Linked DNA regions of Homo sapiens: all the other regions are linked to region 2. The links are contacts of gene promoters, found by promoter capture Hi-C in blood cells and fetal thymus (Javierre and others, 2016). All regions are on one chromosome and are shown on one strand. The core of a region is centred on a gene start or on the middle of the fragment in contact, and the rest is flanking DNA. Distances in the headings are between cores, read along the strand shown. Region 1 has its middle 14 kb from the start of GSTM5. Region 2 holds the start of GNAI3 (G protein subunit alpha i3). Region 3 has its middle 27 kb from the start of EPS8L3.

Region 1 (2,700 bases), core at 115-2,614, 180 kb after region 2:
TAAATATATATAAAAGCTATGGCTTATCAATATATGTAAAAAGCACATTGGTTCCATCCAGAAAGGCTGGACAACTCGAAGCAGGTGGGTGCTTCAAGTTGTCCCACCTTTCCAGACCAAACCAATGTAGTTCTTTATACATATTAATTGATGTTTCATGTCTGTCTAAAATGTATAAAATCAAGCTGTGCCCTGAACACCTGCGGCACATGTTGTCAGGACATCCTGAGGCTGTGCCACCGGTATTCATCCTCAACCTTGGCAAAACAAACTTTCTAAATTAACTGAGACCTGGCTGGGCACGGTGGCTCACGCCTGTAATCCCAGCACTTTGAAAGGCTGAGGCAGGCGGATCACCCGAGATGAGGAGTCCAAGACTAGCCTGGCCAACATGGCGAAACCTCGTCTCTACTAAAAATACAAAACTTAGCTGGGCATGGTGGCAGATGCCTGTAATCCCAGCTACTTGCTTGGTAGGCCGAGGCAGGAGAATCGCTTGAACCTGGGAGGTGGAGATTACAGTGAGCGGAGATTGTGCCATTGCACTCCAGTCTGGGCGACAGAGCAAAACTCCCTCTAAAAATGAAAGAAAGGAAGGGAAGGGAAGGGAAGGGAAGGGAGGGGAAGGGAAGGGAAGGGAAGGGAAGGGGAAAGAAAGGAAGAAAGAAAGAAAGAAAGACAGACCTGTCTCGGATTTTCTGGAACTTGTCTCACATTTTCTGGGTTCACAGGAGGAATCTCAGATAAGACTGTTTTAAAGCTGAGCTCAGCCATGGATTTGTGCCATTAAATACCTATGAGTTGGGTGATCCTCTCCCCTTGAGGTTCCAAAGTAAACTTGGGGCTCCTGGGCCTGTCAGAAAGTGACATTCTTTACCTACCACAGGTGGACAAAACTATGAGTCCAGTTTCCCAAGTGGCTTTATTGGCTCCATAAATCAAGTTTGATTCCTTAAAGGAAAGCATACCATTCAAGTTAAAGCTTTGGTAAAATAACCAGTTTCTCCAACTGTGTCCTGTTACAAATGAAAACAGATTATTATTGTGTTGGGAACCGAAAGCCTGAGGGTTGTGACCCACTCAGCATTCCACTGAAGGCTATATGATCAAACAGCAAACTGTTTATCATGAATACAGAATGTGAGCAAACTTGCATCTGTGCCTGCCGCCAGAAGGTATGCTGAGAGTAATCACTCCCTGGTGCCGTGCTCCTTGAGGTTATCTACTGGGACATCTGGAGCCTACTGTTCAAATAATGCAGTCATGCAGACCTGCACTAAGTCAAGCAGCTGACCACAACCATCCCCTTCTCCCTATCTCCTTTACTCAATAAATATGAAGGACTCTAAAAGCTCAGGGCCCTTGTTCACTAGAAGCAAGGAGTCCCCTGACCCCCTTCTTCAAAACATACTCTTCAGTCTTTGTCTTTATTCCCGCCTTGGTCCTCCTTTGTTCAGTCCAGCAAGGTCCACAGCAAAGTGCTGCCCGAAAACAGGGTCTTGAGGACATGAACAAAGAAGGTCTGCTGGAGCAGAGGAAGTGAAATTGACCAGATGAACAGGGACCCTGGGATGAATCTGCTGGCAGTGGATATAAGGTCAGTGCTCTAAAGAAGTACTGGGAATGGGAATTTTCTGAATCAGGGTAACATGGGGCAGAATTTGTCTCTTGAAGAAAAACATTATGTGCAGTTGCTTAAAGTTCTGTTGAAATAGCCTGGGGCTCAAGTTAATTAGCAAACATTAACTAAGCTTCTGCAGGAGGTTATTATGCATAACCCATGGTTTCTGCAGGCAGGCAATCTTGATGTGGAAAATTGGGACAGAATAGGAGAAGGATTGAAACGGGCTCATCAAAAAGGTCTTAAAGTAGACCCTTCTGTTTTTTCTGCCTGGGGTTTGGTTTGCACAATCCTACTGCTGCTGTCTCCTTCTAATTCTGTCGGACAACAGGAGTCAGGTTCTGAGTCTCAAGAATTAAAAAGATTATTTATTCCTCTGACAGCGCCTATTGAAAATAATGAGCAGGAGAAAGGGGAGGAGATTTGGCCACTTGCTACGCAGGAAAAAGGAGAGGAGAACTGGCCTCCGCCACCCCCTCCAATAACAGAAGCAGAAACCCCCATATAAAAAATGTTGCGTGCTGCTGCTATGGCTGGTGAACCTTTAGGACCTTGCGCTTTTCCTATTACTGTAAGGCCTGATCTGAATGACCTACAACATCTTTTACATGAACACACTCTTGTAGAGTTTAAATTATAAAAGAATTAAAAGCTAGCGTGGTTAATAATAGAGGGCAAAGCCCATTTACTATAGGGCTGTTAGAATCAGTGTTTGGAGCCATGTGCCTTCCACCCTTTGATATAAAACATTTGGCTCACACTCGCTTATCCGCCAGTGCGTATCTGACATGGAGTTTAAATTGGCAAGAAATGTGAGCAGACCAGGCTAGGCAGAATTGCACCGCTGGTCAAGGACACATTACAGAGGAAATGCTAACATGTAGTGGCCCCTTTTCAGATCTGGTATAACAATTAACACTCCCAGAGGCCACTTACCACCAGTCTGCCTTAGCCACCAAATGTGTCTGGAGCACAATTCCTGAAGAGAGAGTTCCAGTGCAGACTTTTCCACATGTTATGCAGGGATCACGGGAGCCTTATGCACAATTTATCGCGTGGCTGCAAGAGGCAGTGCAGTG
Region 2 (2,700 bases), core at 158-2,657:
GCACCTAGCCGTATCTGGCAAATAGGTACTCAATAAATACTGGTTTTACTTCCCTTTCCTCTTGCCCTTTTTCCCCAAAAGTATTGATAATGGAAAAGCAGTCCCTTTCATTCTTAACAGTCATTTGGGAATGACTGGGGGACTTTTCAAACCTTGAAGAATTGGCATTGCTAAGAGTTAAGGTGGACGAGGCTTTTTAAGGTGGCTCTAATCCTCTAATTAAATCCTTCTAATTAATGAATCATCACTATATAAACCTCTCTGTTGGGACCTTACTTTCTCAAGTTCAGATTCTATTAGAGAAATAAATTTACAATCACAGGGAAAGGTTTTAGGGACTGAGTTCCCTTCGCTAGAACGTATAGTAATTGTGGGCTTATTTGCCTGAAAAGTTGATTTAGGACTACCTTCACGCAGTATCCAGGGTTATTAGTGAAAGATGCTATCTGCCTGGGACTTTCACAGTGGACTTAAGTTTCAGGTGATACTAGGGCTGAGAGGCAAATTTTACTAGAACCTCTCCTTTTGCATGTTATCGCAACAGGAAATTTTAGTAGGAGATTCACAGGATGCACTGGTTTGTTTCGGGGTGTGGAATTGAAGTTGACTTATCTTGGTTTTAGTTCTAAGACCCTAAGGTAGGAAGATCTGAATTATACTGGAGAGAAGGGCAGCATGGAAATTTTATGGAGGAACTACAGGCTTACCTTTCAGGTTATCGAGTATCTGCTAGCGATTTCAAGTGGCCTTTTGCCAATATAGGAGTTAAGCAAATCTCAAGCCCACAGAAATACGTGAATAGCAAAAGGACCAGGGGACATTTTGAGAGGAGTCAGTGGGCCAGAGACGGCAAAAAGTTATTGCTGAGGTCCTAAGCACAGTCGGTGTTACGATCTCAGATGTGAGACGTGAACGGCGCCCAGGCCGGATAGCTTGTTCCCATTCCATTGATCTGAGATAACCCCAACGGAGGCAGTGTCCCATACTTGGGTAGGGGTCCCGAGTCTCCACAGCCAGAGATCAAAGGAGTTTTCTGGCAGGCGAGAAATTACCAGCAGATATTCCCGCGCGGGATGTAGGCTTTAATTTAGAAATCTCCGCCCCAAAACTGGCATCTTGAACGCGGGAGGGCATTATGAGTTAGAGGCCCCGGTTTTTCTCCATTTATCCAAATCAGGTAGCCGAAAGGTAAATGAGGCTTCAAGTTGGGCGGCGGGCAGCGAACTTGACAGAACCTCGAAACTCTGCAGATCCGCCGCCCAACCCAGCCGCCAGCTCCCCGTGACTTCCGCTTTCGGTCTCAACTCCTCTCCCTGAGGAGAGTGGTTTAAACGGTGAAGGCTGCGGGGCGTCGCCGGAAGTGTCGTAAACGTCGGATATCCGGTTCTTCTGGGCGCTAAGGGAGCTGACGGAGAGGGCCACCGCCCAGCAATAGACGGTGCCTCAGCCTGCCGAGCCGCAGTTTCCGTGGTGTGAGTGAGTCCGGGCCCGTGTCCCCTCTCCCGCCGCCGCCATGGGCTGCACGTTGAGCGCCGAAGACAAGGCGGCAGTGGAGCGAAGCAAGATGATCGACCGCAACTTACGGGAGGACGGGGAAAAAGCGGCCAAAGAAGTGAAGCTGCTGCTACTCGGTGAGGGGCTGGAGGCGGGGACTGAGTGGTGGTCGGGAGAGCCTAGGCGCTTGGAAGGCCTGAACGGGGTCTGGTCGGGCCGACGGAAAGGACCCTAAAGGGATCTGGAGGGCGTGCCGGGCGTGGGGCGGGGTGTTGGGGTTCCTAGCTGAGGCCCCAGAGGGCGTGATGAGGGGGGTGGGGTTTTGGGGTTGCGGGAATTAGGCTGTAGAGGGTGTGACTCCGGGCTAGAATTGCGTTTAGCAGAGAGACTTGGGAGTATGGGCCGGTAGATGTTGAGGGAGTAGGAATATGGGAAAAGCTCATAAAGGAAGAGTTGATACTAGGAAGGTTTTACGTTGGGTTGGAGCGTGTTGGTAACGAGAACGGCATAGAGTATATGTTGGGCTTGTATAATGGTTTGTGAGTTTGGAGCGTCGTGGTTCTTTGGCAGGATAAAGCTAGCAGGCTTGAATGGATGGTACAGAGACTGGAACAGAATGGTCACATAAGGACGTTGACATTTGTTAGTAAGAGAGCCATTTGAACTGTTGGAAGAACCCTGGATTATCCAGGAACATGAAGATAGGTAGGTGAGATAAATGACAAGTTATCAGGTATAAAGGAAAAGAGCTTGGGTGCAGAGGCCATCTCTACTTTTCCACCGTTTCCTATCATTTTTATTTTCAAAGTTTTATAACGTCTTCTTCTGTTTTTACAAAAGGATGGGAAATGGTGTGAGCTGAAGAAATTTAAAGAATGATTTCTTTGAGGTTTGTAGCAGAAGATCTAGTGAACAAGAGATTACACATTGGAGGATGCTGAATAGTTGCTATAGATGATGTGTAGTTGGAATAGTTACCTTAGGATAAGTTACAGAGTTGGACATATTCACTGTAAAGACTATGGTAGACTTCTGGTGGCTGTTTTATCCTTTTTGGCCTCTTCAAAGCAAAACCATTGACTTCAGGAATTACTGTTTATGTTATTTGATAGTCGTTTTAATTGGCTTTTTTTAAACACAGTCGGATGTATTTTACTCAACATGAGTTTCAAAATTTTTGAGAGGCTCAGTAAATCATACAAAGAA
Region 3 (2,700 bases), core at 187-2,686, 240 kb after region 2:
CCCCAACCCCAGTGTGGATCCTGGGGAAGGAAAAGGGACTCAGACTCTGACCGCAAGGGGTGGACCTGAAGCCCCAGCAAACTGTCAGCCATCCTCTGCCATCCTTGAAGTCAGCCCCCAGAAGATGCATGTGGCCTGTGTGGTGCTCTGGTTGGCACAGGACACTCAGCCTTCTGACCACGTGGGAGCAGTTATCCACAGGTGCCACCTCAGTGGGAACGGGTCAGCGTCCTGGTTCTCCTGGCCAAGGTGCAGAAGTTGGAGCCTCTACCTCCCCCTCCACTTTTTGAGTACATGAGACCTGGAGGTTCTTGGGCAATTTGAAAGGAGAGGAAGATTCCAGAGGAAGGTATGTTTTTCTTTCAAGTATAGTAAATTAGGTCTGGATGGTTTTAATTGAAATTATACAAATCGAAGAAATGCAATAGTATTTGTACCTCCAATATCTGCTATCACTCAGTGGTCACAAAAACATCAGTTCCTATTTATCAAAAGCTTATGGTATGCCAGGTCTCCCATTTACATTGTTTTATTTAATCTTCAGGACAAGGTAGGTACTTTCTGTCACCATTTTACAGATGAGAAAACTGAGGCTCTCTACAGAGAGGTTAACTAACTTTCCCAAAGTCACACAGATAGCAAAGCTGTGGATTGGGCTTATAACCCACATGTCTTTCACTCCAAAGTCCTTCGACCACAAGGTCCACTCTATTGCTCTGTCTGGGGGTTCTCTGAATCTGTGGGGACCCCAGAAGATATGGACCTGCAGGGAGAAGCCATGGGATCTGGAGGCCCAAGGCCTAAGGAGACCGTGGGGCCTCCTTCAGGTAACTGTCTTCGGCAGCAGCTGCATCCCATTACACTGTGGACAGCAGTCTTTAGAAAGCCACCTTCTCCTGGGCTGCAAAGGAACAGGGTGACCACAGCCTATGAACCCTTGGGGCCCCTTGAGTTCCCACTGCCTGCCCGGCAGGGTTTCACAAACGCATTGACATTGATGTTGACAGGGCAGCCTGTGTGGAGGGTGCAGGAAGCCCAGAGGCCTGTGGCTGCCAGCATTGCTCAGAGTTTCCGCTGAGCTCTTCCTGCAGGGCCCTCCTCAGGGCTCTGCTAGCCAGCGCCCCCTGTCTTGAGGCCTTCGTGGACCCCAGCTGGCTCTGAGACAAGCTCAACTGACTCCAGGGCCTCTGAAGGGCTAGGAAGGCCCCATTTTCTGGGTGCCGAGCCTTGGGTTAGCTTCAGAGGCCCTGGTGATAGCCTCAGGATATCTGAAGGTTTCTTAGGACCAACGCCACCAGGTGGGACAGAGGCAGTGCTACTTCCAGTCAGAAGATCCAAGTTCCACTCTCAGATCCAACACTCGCTGGTTCTGCAACCTCAGGCGGGTGTCTTTCCCTCACCGAATTCCCTCCCCTATCTACCTCACAGGGCTGTTTAAAACCCTTGGCAACAGGAAAACACTCGGCCAGTATTGGTGGCCCTAGTAAGGCTGTGGGCTGACTGTGGGCCTGCCCCTAATTGGTCTTCTCACCTGGAAACTCAGCGAAGAGGCTGGACTTATGGGTTCCAGAAGAGGGGCAGGGCATTCCAGGAGGAGAGAGGGCTGAGCCCAGGCACAGAGTTCAGAACACACAGGAAAGAATTGAGCTCTGTGCCAGAAACTGTTCTAAGCATTTTACACATAATAACTCATTTACCTCTCTCATCGTTCCCATGAGGTAGGCATTACTTCACCCCATTTTACAGATGAGGCAATGGAGGCACAGAGGGGTAAAGTAACTTGCTCAAGATCCCATCGCTAGAAGTGGGGAGCCAAGATTTGGACCTGGGCAGTCTGGGAGGAGACCACCAGTGGAGGCAGCGGTGGTGGGACTGGAAAGGTTGGGAGAAACGCCAGGGACTGGGCCGCATCTGCCCTGCTCACTGCTGCAAGGCCAGCGCCCAGAGCAGTGCTTAGCACATAGTAGGTGTTCTTAGCCTGTTCCTGATACATGAGCTCCGCAGGTGTGGCTACCTTGCTTGTCTGGGGACGCTGACATTTCACACAACACAGAGAGGTTGGGGTTGCTGCCTCTGCCTTTGGGCTGAGATTCAGCCCTTTTCAGTGGGGCTATTGGACCCCTACAGCGGGAGGGCCCCTTGTAGGAAGGCAGAAATTTAAAATCGTTCCTTAATCTCCCTTTGGCCCCCTCCTGTTAGGGCCAGCCTCGCCTCCTGTACCTCCCTGGGGAGTGTTTTTAGCTCCCAGAACTTGGGATCCAGGTGGGCTGGGGGGCTGGGGGAATGCAGACAAACGGAGAAGCATGTTCGCTGCCGGCAGAGGCTGCTGAGAGACCAGCCTGTTTGCATGGCTGGAGCGCTGGGGGCTGGTGAGAAAGGAAGCTTCCTACTCTGCAGCACTCAGACCCCACTAGGAATGTGGCTTGGGGCCAGGATCCCTCTGGGCAAGAAAGGATGACTCAGCAGAAACAGCGTCCTGGCCCCACAGGACAACTGGAGCCGCTGCCCTGGGGGCTGGTACCAAGTGGCAGAGCTGCTGAATTAATGACCCCTCCACCTCAGCTTCATCTCCACCCTCCTACACCTCATCCCCCACTCCCACTCTCCCAGGCCTCCTTTAGAAGCCGTTCTCTGGGCTGGGGTTTTAAGACTCTCAGAGTGGCAAGACCTGGCCCCCTCCAGAAACTTTCAGACGGAATT

The links. Contacts are between HindIII fragments. The CHiCAGO score rates a contact against its expected background, and 5 or more counts as called.
Region 1: a contact is called between a fragment that was not itself captured here and the fragment with the promoter of GNAI3 in region 2, in 1 of 17 cell types (M1 macrophages). The highest score is 5.3, in M1 macrophages.
Region 3: a fragment that was not itself captured here is called in contact with the fragment with the promoter of GNAI3 in region 2 in 14 of 17 cell types (naive CD8 T cells, non-activated CD4 T cells, erythroblasts and 11 more); the score reaches 11.3 in naive CD8 T cells.

The regions. Positions count from the first base shown.
Region 1 is chr1:109,724,472-109,727,171 of GRCh38, forward strand. No RefSeq gene overlaps it. Among named protein-coding and RNA genes, the nearest start is that of GSTM5, 14 kb to the left of the region's middle. The HindIII fragment of the contact is 769 bases long and covers 981-1,749 here.
Region 2 is chr1:109,547,208-109,549,907 of GRCh38, forward strand. It overlaps GNAI3 (G protein subunit alpha i3), which reads left to right and starts at 1,408. Exons shown (of 9, transcript NM_006496.4): 1 at 1,408-1,631. The coding sequence starts at 1,514. GPR61 (G protein-coupled receptor 61) reads left to right here. Exons shown (of 2, transcript NM_001393907.1): 2 at 1-53. RefSeq lists enhancers at 935-994, 1,525-1,694. The HindIII fragment of the contact is 6,158 bases long and covers 1-2,700 here.
Region 3 is chr1:109,789,896-109,792,595 of GRCh38, forward strand. No RefSeq gene overlaps it. Among named protein-coding and RNA genes, the nearest start is that of EPS8L3, 27 kb to the left of the region's middle. RefSeq lists an enhancer at 1,265-1,324. The HindIII fragment of the contact is 1,887 bases long and covers 494-2,380 here.